5 separate regions of the Homo sapiens genome follow, and all the other regions are linked to region 5. The links are contacts of gene promoters, found by promoter capture Hi-C in blood cells and fetal thymus (Javierre and others, 2016). All regions are on one chromosome and are shown on one strand. The core of a region is centred on a gene start or on the middle of the fragment in contact, and the rest is flanking DNA. Distances in the headings are between cores, read along the strand shown.

Region 1 (2,754 bases), core at 6-2,505, 290 kb after region 5:
CTGGCAACAGGGGAGAAGCTATTAAAATGTACTAGTGTAATTGGCCTTTGCTTCCAAACCCTTCATTTCTCGCTGAGAGCATCCCAATTGTCCTTAGGATTATATTAACAAGAGTTAACCTTTATTAGTGTGTTATTGTGTGCCCAGCTAGTAGCAATACTACCATAGCTTTCAGCATTCCTACAGTGTAAGCACTATTATCGTCTTCATTTCACACATGAGAAAACTGAGGCTCAGAGAGGTGAAATAATATGACTGTTCAGCCTATATTTCAGTTGGAGAAGCCCCTTTTGTTTTGGAGGGGAGATTCAAGGTGGAAGAGTAGATGAGATTAAAGAATGAGTTACACGACTGGGAGTGGCGGCTCACGTCTGTAATCCCAGCACTTTGGGAGGCTGAGATGGGAGGATCACTTGAGCCCAGGAGTTTGAGACCAGTCTGGGCAACAAAGCAAGATACCATCTCTACAGAAACCAAAAACATTAGCTGGGTGTGGTGGCATGTGCCTGTAATCTCAGCTACTTGGGAGGCTGAGGCAGGAGGATGGCTTGAGCCCGGAAGTTTGAGGCTGCAATGAACTATGATCATGCTACTTACTGTGATCTAGCCTGGGTGACAGAGCAAGACCTCATCTCAAAAAACAAACAACAAACAAACAAACAAAAGAGAATGAGTTAAATGAGTTACATGAAGTAGAATGTGGGGCTGTCAATGGGTTTCATGGGTCACACCAGGCAGCTTATTCTCTGAGAGCGAATAGGAGCCCATGCCGTCCTTTGTGTTTGCTGAATCCTCATTAATTAACATACATCATTTAACTAGAGATAATAGAGGTCAGCACTTACTGGACATTCCCTATGTGTCAGCATTATTCTCATCATTTTCACAAATGATCTAATTTGATCCTGACAACAGCTGTAGGAGTTGGGCACTGTTAGTATCAGGCATGGAGAGTTCAAGCAACTTGCCCAGGATTACATGGCTAACAAGTGGCGGAGCTCCAGCCATCTGGCTCTGGGAGTGGGCTCTTAATCAGCCTCTCAGATCTGAGGTTGGAAAGAGAGAGGCAAACCAAGCACTACCAAGGCCCCCGAATAGAGGGGAGCCAGATGGCCTGAGTGGGACTCTGGGCTTGGTCTGTGAAGAATGGAAGACTCCAACTCCATCCATCTTCCCTGGGACCCAGAGCCAAAGGATTCATTCTGTCTCCCTCTTCCCCCACTGATATTTGCTATTTTATCAAATCTGGTGTTATTACTAGCAGGAAAACCCTCCGAAAACCCCGTGTGGGCTCCTGTGTGGCTATAGGGCTTGCAGAGTCGGGAGAGAGGAGGAAGGATAGAAGAAAGAAGACGAAATGAGACATGCGGCCTGCCTGGGCTGGAGGGAAAACTGTCTGTCTCAGGTGATGTGCCGAGCAGGCAGTGGTGGAAGGAACCTTTGCAACAGGATGCCTGGCCACCTGGCCTGTCTTATCCATCACTGACTGTATGATGTTGGAAAAGGGCCTAACTGTTCTGGGCTTGGATTTTTTTACTGGTAGAAAAAGCACTGGCTTCAGGAAACAGTGTGGTGTCCTGCAAAGAGCACAGCCTTTTACAGTCAGGCAGACCTGACTTCAAGTAATGTATTTAGCTTCCTTTAGCCTCATTTCTCCATCTGTGAAATGGGGATATTAATATCATCCACACACTTTATGGGGCTGGAGGGAAGATTAAATGAGATGACCTGTACCAAGGTTTCACAGCTCCAGCTCCATGGACACTTTGGATGGGGCAATTCCTTATTCTGGGGGTGCCGTCCTGTGTATTGTAGGGTGTTTAACAGCGTCTCTGGATTTTACCCATTAGATGCCAGTAGCACTTCCCCCAGCCTCAGGTATGACACAGAAAAATGTCATCAGACATTGCCAAATGTTCCTGGGGAAGGGGAAAATTACCCCTGGTTGAAAACCACCCGTGTAACATCTGACATAAATTGGGCATTTAAGATTTGTTTGTTAAACATGAATATCCCTTAGTGAATAAGTAGAACTTGGAGTTGGTAGCCAGGGATATCCTGTAATGTCCTTTCCCAGCTGGTATCCTAGATGTCCTTGTCCTCTGAGACTCTGGACAGAAGTTATAGCTCCACGGTCTGGACGCAGCCACCTCCCCACCGGGCCACCTGCTCCGATCCTATGTGGAAGTCATGGGCCACTAAGAGAGCCTAGAGTGGCACAGTCTTGACTCTGAATCTTTAAAAACTTCAGGACTCCTTGACTTCTCATTTCTAGCATTCAGACTTTTAATTTTTAATGGGATGAGGCCCAAACCAATTTAATAATATAAATGACGACTGATTTTAAAGATCTCTGAGCATTTAGAATTTTTGCCATTGGGACATTTTTATGGAAGGAAGGAACTTAGGCATAGGTCTAGTTTCAGGTCATGTAAAAATGCTGGCCTATTAAGAAGTTAAAGTTAATTTAAATTAAAATATTCACAGTGACATTTAATTCCAGTGGGGCTGTTCTGTCTGCTGAAGGAGCTATCATTCCCTCCTGCTCTCACTGCCTCCTGGTTGCCTATCAATGGGCCCTACGCACAAGTAAGCTTGACTACGTGTTCCAGGTTTTCTAGATGGCCTCAACTTCTTCTTTTCATTGAACCTGTACAAACATTTGTTTGTGAGGCTGAGTGGGCAGATCACTTGAGCCCACGACCAGCCTGGGAAACATAGTGCAGCCCTGTCTCTCCAAAAAAAAAAAAAAAA
Region 2 (2,700 bases), core at 18-2,517, 350 kb after region 5:
TGGCAATTTATTTATTGCCTCTTGCATTCCATCAGTTGCAATTATTCAGCCATCGAGTTCTCCTTCAGAGCCCTCAGTCTGGATCAGCCCATTATCTCCCTTTAAGCCAGGCCCTCCCCAACGCAGGTCACCTTCTAGCTGATTTCCCTCACTTCAGTCTCCCCAGTTTTTCTCCACCTTGCCACTGGTGATGGGTAAATTATCTTAAAACATGACTTGGTCGTGCCACTGCTCAAAAACCTTCTGAGGTGCTCCATGTCTGAGTGCTTCGCTCCTGAAACTGGGCATGAAACTCTGAGCCAGAGTAGTCAATGCCCAGGGCACTGAGAAGCACAGTTTTCTGGAATGCTGATTGAGCTTGATATGAACTAATATAGAATAATAGTTGTATATTTAAGCAAACATGGTTTATAAAATAGTCAAATGCAACTCTTTATATTATTAAAATAAAATATAAAGGGAAGAAATGTAGAGTCTGCAGGTGGCTGCTTCAGGCTGTGCCCACCTATTACGTAGGGGTAATGTGTCAATTCTCCCATCAGTTGAGGCTACTTAGGGGGAGAAGTTAAAAAGCTCTGAAGATAGCAACTGTTCTCAATCTCCCTCGGTTCTACCCAGGGGTGCTCCACTTGTGCCCAAGACAATTTTCAGCTTCTCTGCAGTGTGTGCCACTGTTCTGGGCAGGTGGCCTCCTGAGGTCCCACAGCTACCTCCAATTCAGTTCCACATGCACGAATATTGATCTCCTTTACTCACACACATCCTGCTCACACACCCACCCCTAACATGGCCATGGTGCCTTCCTGGCCTCTTAGGAGCATGGTGACCTCTGCTCTGGCTTGTGTGGTGGACTATTTCACAATGTAGTAGTCTCTCTCTCTCCCTCTCTCTCTCTCTCTCTCTCTCACACACACACACACACACATACACCCCTACACATACACACATGCACACATACTTATATACACAAGCTGCCCCGAGGTGGCTCTAGGTAGTTAATTTTAGTGTTATTAGACAGTGGTGGCACAGTGGAGACAGAATACCTGGATTCAAATCCTGGCTCCCCCACTGCAATAGTCCATTCTCATACTGCTATAAAGAACTACCTGAGAGTGGGTGATTTATTAGAAAAAAAAAAAAAAGAAATTTAATTGACTCACACTTCCACATTGCTGGGGAGGCCTCAGGAAACTTACAGTCATGGTGGAAGGCGAAGGGGAAGCAAACTTGGACCTTCTCAAATGGCGGCAGAAGAGAGAGATGGTGTGGAGCAGGAACTTGCCAAACACTTATAAAACCATCAGATCTTGTGAGAATTCACTCACTATCACGAGAACAGCATGGGGGAAACCGCTCCCATGATCCAGTCACCTTGCCCTGGGTCCTGCCCTCAACATATGGGGATTACTGGGATTACAATTTGAGATGATATTCAGGTGTGGACACAGAGCCAAACCATATCATTCTGCCCCTGGCCCCTCCCAGATATTATGTTCTTTATACATTTCAAAACAAAATTGTGCCTTAGCAACAGTCCCCCAAAGTCTTAACTTATTCCAGTATTAACTTGAAAGTCAAAGTCCAAAGTTTCATCTGAGGCAAGGCAAGTCCCTTCCACCTATGAGCCAGTAAAATCAAAAGCAAATGGCCGGGTGCGGCGGCCCACGCCTGTAATCCCAGCACTTTGAGAGGCCGAGTCGGGTGGATCACTTGACGTCAGAAGTTCGAGACCAGCCTGGCCAATGTGGTGAAACCCTGTCTCTACTAAAAATACAAAAATTAGCAGGGTGTGGTGGCACACACTTGTAGTCCTAGCTACTGGGAGGCTGAGACAGAAGAATCTCTTGAACCTGGGAGGTGGAGGTTGCAGTGAGCCAAGATAGTGCCAATGTACTCCAGCCTGGGTGACAGAGCAAACTGTGTCTCAAAAAAAAAAAAAAAAAAAAAAGCAAGTTAGTTACTTCCAAGATACAGTGGGGGTGCAGGAGGCATTGGATAAATGCTCCCATTTCAAATGGGAGAAATTGGCCAAAACAAAGGGCTACAGGCCCCACGCAAGTCCAAAATCCAGTGGTGCAGTCATTAAATCTTAAATCTCAAAAATAATCTCCTTTGACTCCATGTCTCATATCCAGGTCATGCTGATGCAAGAGGTGGGCTCCCACAGACTCAGGCAGCTCTGCTTCTGTGGCTTTGCAGGGTATAGCTCTCCTCCTGCTGCTTTCGCAGGCTGGTGTTGAGTGTCTGTGGCTCTTCCAGGTGCAGAGTGCAAGCTGACAGTGGATTTACCATTCTGGGGTCTGGAGTACGGTGGTCCTCTTCTCACAGCTCCACTAGGCAGTCCTCCAGTGGGGACTCTGTGTGGGGGCTCCAACTTCACATTTCCCTTCTGCACTGCCCTAGCAGAGGTTCTCTATGAGGTCTCTACCCCTGCAGCAAACTTTTGCCTGGACATCCTGGCGTTTCATACATCCTCTGAAATCTAAGTGGAGGTTCCCAAACCTCAATTCTTGACTTCTGTGCACCTGCAGGCTCAACACCACATGGAAGCCGCCATGGGTTGAGGCTTGCACCCTCTGAAGCAATGGCCTGAACTGTACACTGGCCCCTTTTAGCCATGGCTGGGATGCAGGGTACCAAGTCCCGAGGCTGCATAGGGCAGTAGTGGGGCCCTGGACCAGCCCATTGTTTTTCCTCCTA
Region 3 (2,741 bases), core at 150-2,649, 330 kb after region 5:
CAGTTGGGGGCTGCTTCTGCCTGCAACATCCTTCACCCACATCTTCAGATGACAGATGCCTTCTTATCATTTAGGCGACAGCTCAAATGTCCCCTCTGCAAAGTTGTCTTCCCTGAGCACACATGTCTGGAATCATTTGCTGTCCCATTTAGCCTCTCTTGCTTTCCTCAAAGCACTTATCACATCTTGAAATGATCCCTTTTATTAACTAGTTTATGAGTTTATTTCTGTCTTAGCCAAGAAGAATGTCAGTTCCAAGGGAATAGAGACTTTTCCTTGTTTACAAATATTCCCAGCATCTAGGGTCAACCTTTCACTCAACAAATAGTTCAGGCACTCAACAGATATTTGTTTATTGAATGAATCTGGAAAATGGCACTACAAATACCTACCCTATGACTTGAATTTCAGGGTCCCCATAAATGGATTGATGAATGCACTGGAGTAGTAGCACAGAGCCCAGGGTGGGGTGCTCAGTGTTTTTTTGTCCTTTAAATTGGGAAGTGGGATGGGGGGCACTGAAGTCTAATTGCCAGCCAGTGCAATGTGGTTGAGGAGCTGTGTTGAGGGGCTTAATCTATGTAGTTTTAAACCAAATGTATTGCAAATGAGGGCAAGTTCTCCTTTTCACAGGCAGGAACGTGGGGGGCATTAAGAAAATCCACATAGAAATGACTGTCTTGGCTTTTTGTCCCAATGGATTAAGAACGAAACCCTAAGAGGAAAACTAAATTGCCCAGAATCCTTAATGTAGTAATTTATTTGCAAGCACTACTAAAAAGTAATAAAAGAGTAGTTAAGCTAAATTAAACTAGCTGGTTTTAGTAACTGCAGACTTTGAAACCAAGGAAAGACATTTACTTCTTAGAGATGTTAAAAGTAAATCATCCTGTCTGATTTATTGCTGACAATAAGAATAAATCACACTGTTTGAGGGAAGTTGAGAACAGGGTGGTATACACATGTGAAGTCAGGGTCTGGGGGACAAAGGTTCACCATGACAGTGAGCACACTGCAGAGACCCCAAGATGCTTGATAGACCTGCTGTAAATTTACGTGAACTAAGAATCATTGTGTGAATGGCCCAGCACACCCTTCGCTAGGTGAATATTTGTTCCTAACTCCCTTTCATGGTGACCTTCTTATTTCATCTAGAATATGAGGTGATTGCCCAGCAAGATCTCAACCGATACTTCCAGTTCAAAGGTTCTATGCTTTACATATAAATATTCTGTTCCAAGAAAGCTCTCTGCTTCTATCACAAGCAGGTTTTCAGCTTTTAGGTCTTGGTTACGTCACATAATAGACAATTCCCATGCAACCTGGGGTTTAATAGTGCAGATTGGATTTGGAATGCCAGCATCAAAAACTACCACAAAGTACAACTTGGGGCAAGTGACTTAATCTCTGCATGCCTTGGTCTTCCCTTCCATAAACTGATGGCAAATGTAGCCATACTTAGCACTGCATAAGCCCTGCTTAGCACTGTGTCAAGCATGTAGGAATAACTTAGGAAATGCTGACTTTTATTACTAAGAATGTCGTTCAGGAAGATTACCATTGCAATAAAAAAAATGTTGTCTTTTGTTGGTTTAAAGAATCCTCCTGGCTGGGCATGGTGGCTCACGCCTGTAATCCCAGCACTTTGGGAGGCCGAGGCAGGTGGATCACGAGGTCAGGAGATCGAGACCATCCTGGCTAACACAGTGAAACCCTGTCTCTACTAAAAATACAAAAAATTAGCTGGGCGTGGTGGCGGGTGCCTGTAGTCCCAGCTACTTGTGTGGCTGAGGCAGGAGAATGGTGTGAACCCAGGAGGTGGAGCTTGCAGTGAGCCGAGATTGCGCCACTGCACTCCAGCCTGGACGACAGAGCAAGACTCTGTGTCAAACAAACAAAAAACAAAAGAATCCTCCTTATTCCATATCTCCAAATGACCCCCTTGTGTTACAAGAGAACTCATGGGCTTTCATGGTGTCAGACAAGCTAACTTGGCTATGAAGGGGCTGGGTCCCACATGTGTATGTCCTGTCTCTGGCCAGTATAAGACACAAGTGTCTTGGGGGCCCCATGGAGCTGTGAGCAGAAAAAATGAGGTGCCTCACCAGGACATGGCTGTGAAGGTCACAGGAAACAGAAGCCACCAGTAGTAGTCTAACTTCTCCGAGAACACGGCCATCAGCAGTCCCACCAGCATCCCGTTGTACCCATGGAGTCCTGAGGCAATGGCAGACCTGGCGGTGAAACAGACTGATTTTGCATTTGAAGTTGGTGGTGTTACTGGGCCCCTCCCTCCTGGTGCTCTGAGGATATGCTTAATTTAGATGATTCCTTTAATAATAATGCTTAGAAAAAAGTCAGTTCGCTCAATGAATATTGGGCAGTCACATAGCTGCCAGCACCTTTCCTGATAACACACACACACACACACACACACAAACACACACACACACACCCTTGTCTTGCTGATCGACAATTAAAATTATGCACTTTGTCTGTGGTTAAGCTCTTCTTTATCAGGGGAGACTTAGACTGCTAAATATAGAGGGAATATAATAGAAACCTGAGGTGTGACACAAGGAAGTTGTGTGTGGGAGTGAGGGAGAGAGAAGAGAGGGAAGGAGAAAGAGTGTTATGATTACATTGTGTAAAGTTCTCTGTAGTTGGCCAGGCTCAGTGGCTCATGCCTGTAATCCCTGCACTTTGGGAGTCCAAGGTGGGAAGATGACTTGCACCCAGGA
Region 4 (2,700 bases), core at 126-2,625, 320 kb after region 5:
GGGTCCTAATCACGAGGGCCTTGTGAGGAAGGAAAGCAAACAAAGGGGGTGGGAGGAGCCCAGCAGGCCCCCACATTCCAAGGAGTGGTGGGGAATGGTGTGGAGGGGAGGTCGGTCGCCTGCATGGAGGCCTGTCCTTGTGTTGCTAGTTCAGGATCCATGGCTATCTGCTGGTTAACACGGAGCCTTCACGTTTTTCTTGTCCCTGCTGGCTGGTCTGTTGGCTCAGTCCTTGCTGCTGTCCCTTGTTCTCTTGCCCTGGCTTCTCCCAAGGGCTCCTGAACTTCTTGAGATGCGCTCACTCCAGCTACCTAAGCATCCACCTATTCCAGACATAACAGGGAGCCACCTGTGAGCAATATGTCATTAATTTGAAAAGACAGGAAATGACTGCTTAAGAAGGCTTTCAGGAAGTTCATACACATTCCATTAGCCAAATGGAACTGTGGTTCTTCAAGATGTAGTGAGTATCTGTCACAAACACTAGACTCAGGGTGGGGCAATAAAGTGCTGCCTTGGAAAGCAGAAGGCCAAGATATAATCTTGTCCCCTTGACTAGAGCTAGATAAAGGCTAGAGCTCAGATACCAAGGGCTCTTCAAGAGATCAATTTGTGCCTACACTCTTTATTTGAAGGCTCAATTGAAATTCGCTTCAGAACAAGGTTTTCTTCACAATGCTCGTGGCTTCCTTCAATTCTACGTTTTCAACTTTACAGAGGGAGGAGGCCTGCATTGACCACCAGGAGCTAAACTTGGGAAGGTCAGATCCTCCAAGGGAAAGGGCCCAAGTCCATGTGGAATAAATGCAAGCTGGAGCTGGAAGTTCTCCAAAGGGCTGCTTACTTTGCTTCATTCTGCTCTAGCAGCCTGTGCAGCGGTAGAAGGGGGTTGGGAGGTCCTTGTTATCAATTTGCAGAGGGTTAAAAAGGACTTGTCATTTTCCCCCTTGCCCCCTTCTTGGGGTCTTGGAATTTCTAGTTCCACTTGGGGTAGAAGGGCTCCCTGTGTATTCTTTCATCTTCTCTGAATGGCTAGAGACAGGAAAAACCAGGCAAGTAAAAAAAGTCTCACATAAAATGTGAATGCCTTTAAAGTTACCAGATGAGACCATGGTTTATTGAGTAGAAATCATGCCCATACTGAAACTGCCAGCCCCCACCTGGTTTTAGATTAGAGCTGTCCTCAGGCCATCAAAACCTTTATGACCCAAGAAAACAAAGTTTAGGCTCATACAGGAAAGCATAAACAAATGTTCCACGATGTTTGCACACTGGTCTGATATAACCACAAACTCAGGCTGCGAAGACAGTTTCCTGACAGGCAGATCTTAGAGGGTTGACCAGAAAGAGAGTCCCTTCAGAGAGGAGAGTGATGGGAAGGAGAAAGTCAATGCCAAGGAGAGTTGAATAATGTTGGTCCCCAGCTTTTGTCCATGTAAGCAACCATGTTGAGCATTTTGGTAAAGTGGCCAAATGGCTAACTGGTTAAGCTCTAGAAAAGTAGCAAAGGCACTTGTGGCATATTTTTGGTACACATGGTCTTCATGTTCTTACCTTTTTACCACCTCGGCGATAACTCCTCTTTATTCCTCCATGGGAACTCAGGGCCATAGAATCACAGAACGTTGGGAATTGGAAAAGAGAGGCCGCAGTGGTAATCCGGTCTGGTTACCCACCCCAAACAAGCATCTCCAACCGGCCTCCACACCCTGCTCCTGCACTATCAGGGCAGAAATCTTAGGACCTTATAGGACATTATCTCTCAAGCAACTTCCATTGTTAAAAAGTGCCTTTCTCCACTGATTCAAAGTCCATTTGCTTATCACTCGTACCTAGTGCACTCCCTCTGTGCTCTGGAGAAACACTGAACAAGTTGACTTCTCCCACATGCATTACCTAATACTGCAGACACACACGGCTGCAGCTCTTTCATCTCTTCTCCAAGCCAAACACAACCAGCTTCATCATCCCCTGTGAGATGATGGTGCTCCAGACCCTCATCCATCCAGCTTGGCCTCATCTTGGCATGCCCTCCTTTGCCAAAGACCCTCTCGAAATGTGCCACCCATTTTTCTTTGTACTCTTTCTTCCCCTTTCATCAGAACTGTTCTCAGAAATGGCTCCTTTGGCCTAAGATACAAATGATTGATCATGTTTACTGTGGTACCTTCTCAGGACTGTTTACAGTTGAACAGATTCAAAGCCTTAAGTTGAAGGAATGGCTGGGAATGCTTGGGCTGCAGGTAATGGAAAGATAGGGGATACAAGGGGACAAGGCACTGAAATCTTCCTGGAACCCTTAAAATCATGCCTAAAACACTTTTTAAACAGAAGATCAGCCTGACAAGGTCAGGAGCTCAAGACCAGCCCGGCCAACATGGTGAAACCCCATCTTTGCTAAAAATAAAAAAAAAGCTGGGCATGGTGGTGGGTGCCTGTAATGCCAGCTACTCAAGAGGCTGAGGCAGGAGAATCGCTTGAACCTGGGAGGTGGAGGTTTCAGTGAGCCGAGATCGTGCCATTGCACTCCAGCCTGGGCAACAAGAACAAAACTCCGTCTCAAAAACAAAACAAAACAAGACAAAAAAACCCAAAACACCTGTGGTGCTGTGAATTTCAGTGGGCTCAGGCAGTCCGCATCCTCATCTTCACCTCAGGTGAGACTATTCACCTGGCCAGGTAAATTCCCATAAAATGAAT
Region 5 (2,700 bases), core at 157-2,656:
CTCAATTAAAATATCATCACAAACAAGCAAACTGCATCTCTGAAGTCTTTTCCATTTTTCATGCCATATTGCTGGATTTTTTATTCTAGGGTATGCTACAGGTGGGTGGATGGTCTTTTTCCTCCCTCCCATACACTCCATTTCCTTTTCTTCTTTTTCTTTTCTTTTCTTTTTTTTGAGATGGGAGTTTCGCTCTTGTTGCCCAGGCTGGAGGGCAATGGTGCGATCTCGGCTCACTGCAACCTCCGCCTCCCAGGTTCAATTCTCCTGCCTCAGCCTCCCGAGTAGCTGGAATTACAGGCGTCCACCACCATGCCCGGCGACTTTTTTGTATTTTTAGTAGAGTTGGGGTTTCACCATGTTGCCCAGGCTGGTCTTGAACTCCTGACCTCAGGTGATCCACCCGCCTCGGCCTCCCAGAGTGCTGGGATTACAGGCGTGAGCCACTGCGCCTGGCCCACTCCATTTCAACGATCTTACCCCACCGCCAGACAAAACTCATACTCATTTGTGTGATTCACGAAATATTTATTTAGTATCTACTATGTGCTACTACGTGCAGTGTTCTAAAGACCCTTGGATACATCAGGCAACAAAATTAAGAACCCTGCCTTTGAGGATCTTACATTCTGGGAGGATTGACAGACACTAACAATAAGGATACAAGCAAATCACAGAAATCCTAGAGCTGGGAAGGGAAGATGTGGACAAGTTTTTCACATCTGGAAATTTCAAATGAAGCACACTGTAAAATGTATACTAAGAATACTTTTACGGATCTTATTTATCTTGTTACCTGTTTGCCTGTCCTTTTAGGAGCACATGTCTTTTTTCCAGTCTGGGAATTTGTACAGTAATGATAATTAATAACTACCATGTACCGACATGCCTGCCGCTACCAGGCACCTTTCTGGGAGAGCCCATTAAATTCTCATGACATCCGAAAAGGCAGGTGTGATCATTCCCCTTTACAAAAGAGGACGCCGAAGTGCACACCCCGATGGGCGTCAGGGTTTCTTCCTTGCGCGCAGTGCGGATTTAGGCTAACCGACTGGATCTGGTTTATCTGAAGATGAAAAAAAAGAATGGCAAACCCACTTTCCGGATTTCTTCAAGCCGACGCGGGTGAGGTGTGCGAGCGCGCCCGGGATCCGCACTGAGTGAGGTTCCGCAGAGCCGGGAGACGGAGGAGGTGGGTCAGCCTGGGTCGCTGCCCTTGTCCAGCGCAACCCAAGACACCTGCGCGCCGGGTGGAGCCAGGGCTAGGGGTGGGGCCTGGGCTCCGGGAAGGGGGCGGGCCTGCCTTCCTCCAGTGCAAATGCGTCCTGGAGTGGTTTGTCCTACGTTGCGGCCCGTAGAGGCGCCGACTCACCGCCTCTTCTCCGGGAGTGGCGGAGATTCGATCATGTGACAGTCCGGAGGCCAGAACCGGGCAGGTTGCTTGAAGCGCAGGGGTTTGACAAAAACAAACGGTGACGGCGCCGCGGAAGGGTCTATGGCCGAGGCGGTGAAGCCCCAGCGCCGGGCCAAGGCCAAGGCCAGCCGGACTAAAACAAAGGTGAGGATCTCCCCCACCCTCCCGAGGCTCTGGCAGTGTGCTGTGTCTCCTTGCTCCTCTCTTCGGCCTCCCCAGCCAATTCTACTCCCGTTCCCTGAGCCCTCTGCATCTTCCGCCTCCACCTTCCAATATTTGATCCCACCACCCGTTGACACCGGCCCTTCTCCTCCATTCCTTCTCCATATCCCCCTGCCACACTCTGTCAGGACCCCATTTTTCCTTCTCCCTCCTGTGACTTCACTGGCCTCTTCCTTTTCTGCTCTCTTGGCTTTCCTCACCTGGGTCTGGTTTCCTGCCGTGAAATAATTTTTCTCTTTCCAGCCCCATCGTTGACTCTCTCTTTACTCTTTTATATCCTAGAACATTTTTAGTCCCTGCCATGCATAAAGAGGGAATGTTCCCCTCCTCCACGCGGAGAAGGTACCTTTGGCAGAACTTTATAAGTAGACTAGTGCTGTGCCATTTCTGATCACTTTGAAAGTTCAAGATGATAGTAGTGCTGCCTCTGTTTATTTCTTATTGTCTTGATTGTTTATAAGGGGCATGAATGGCTAGAAATTAACCCAGGGCGGGACTCACACAGTAGGGAAGTGTTTGAATTTTCTGAGTTTCCTGTATTAGACTACATGTGGTATTAGAGTGATTTTAAGTTGATTTGTTTATAAGTGCAGTCTGGATTTTCATTTTATTATAGTACATATATACACATATATACATATGTACACATATATACATATATACGTACATATATACATATGTGTGTGTGTATATATATGTATATGTATTTTTTTTTTTTTTTTTGAGACAGAGTCTTGCTCTGTCGCCCAGGCCGGAGTGCAGTGGCGCGATCTCGGCTCACTGCAAGCTCCGCCTCCCAGGTTCACGCCATTCTCCTGCCTCAGCCTCCCTCCCGAGTAGCTGGGACTACAGGCGCCTGCCACCACGCCCGGCTAATTTTTTGTATTTTTAGTAGAGACGGGGTTTCACCGTGTTAGCCAGGATGGTCTCGATCTCCTGACCTCGTGATCCGCCCGCCTCGGCCTCCCAAAGTGCTGAGATTACAGGCGTGAGCCACCGCGCCCAGCCTATGTTTTGTTTTGTTTTTGTTTTTGTTTTGATATGGAGTCTCGCTCTGTCGTCCA

Evidence for each region. Contacts are between HindIII fragments. The CHiCAGO score rates a contact against its expected background, and 5 or more counts as called.
Region 1: a contact is called between a fragment that was not itself captured here and the fragment with the promoter of EPG5 in region 5, in 15 of 17 cell types (activated CD4 T cells, non-activated CD4 T cells, naive CD8 T cells and 12 more). The highest score is 14.8, in activated CD4 T cells.
Region 2: a contact is called between the fragment with the promoter of SLC14A2 here and the fragment with the promoter of EPG5 in region 5, in 1 of 17 cell types (total CD4 T cells). The highest score is 5.5, in total CD4 T cells.
Region 3: a contact is called between a fragment that was not itself captured here and the fragment with the promoter of EPG5 in region 5, in 1 of 17 cell types (naive CD8 T cells). The highest score is 5.8, in naive CD8 T cells.
Region 4: a contact is called between a fragment that was not itself captured here and the fragment with the promoter of EPG5 in region 5, in 1 of 17 cell types (total CD4 T cells). The highest score is 5.0, in total CD4 T cells.

What each region holds. Positions count from the first base shown.
Region 1 is chr18:45,675,714-45,678,467 of GRCh38, reverse strand. The region is part of intron 18 of SLC14A2 (solute carrier family 14 member 2); the gene reads right to left. The region is part of intron 7 of LOC105372093 (a long non-coding RNA gene); the gene reads left to right. Among named protein-coding and RNA genes, the nearest start is that of SLC14A1, 47 kb to the left of the region's middle. The HindIII fragment of the contact is 2,682 bases long and covers 1-2,596 here.
Region 2 is chr18:45,614,043-45,616,742 of GRCh38, reverse strand. SLC14A2 (solute carrier family 14 member 2) reads right to left here and starts at 1,267. Exons shown (of 20, transcript NM_007163.4): 1 at 1,161-1,267. All of the region lies in intron 8 of LOC105372093 (a long non-coding RNA gene), which reads left to right. The HindIII fragment of the contact is 14,354 bases long and covers 1-2,700 here.
Region 3 is chr18:45,631,843-45,634,583 of GRCh38, reverse strand. It overlaps SLC14A2 (solute carrier family 14 member 2), which reads right to left. Exons shown (of 20, transcript NM_007163.4): 5 at 2,106-2,234. All of the region lies in intron 8 of LOC105372093 (a long non-coding RNA gene), which reads left to right. Among named protein-coding and RNA genes, the nearest start is that of SLC14A2, 18 kb to the right of the region's middle. The HindIII fragment of the contact is 4,158 bases long and covers 1-2,741 here.
Region 4 is chr18:45,650,618-45,653,317 of GRCh38, reverse strand. The region is part of intron 10 of SLC14A2 (solute carrier family 14 member 2); the gene reads right to left. The region is part of intron 7 of LOC105372093 (a long non-coding RNA gene); the gene reads left to right. Among named protein-coding and RNA genes, the nearest start is that of SLC14A2, 36 kb to the right of the region's middle. The HindIII fragment of the contact is 3,101 bases long and covers 1-2,700 here.
Region 5 is chr18:45,966,035-45,968,734 of GRCh38, reverse strand. EPG5 (ectopic P-granules 5 autophagy tethering factor) reads left to right here and starts at 1,406. Exons shown (of 44, transcript NM_020964.3): 1 at 1,406-1,558. The coding sequence starts at 1,496. RefSeq lists an enhancer at 1,146-1,647. The HindIII fragment of the contact is 12,390 bases long and covers 1-2,700 here.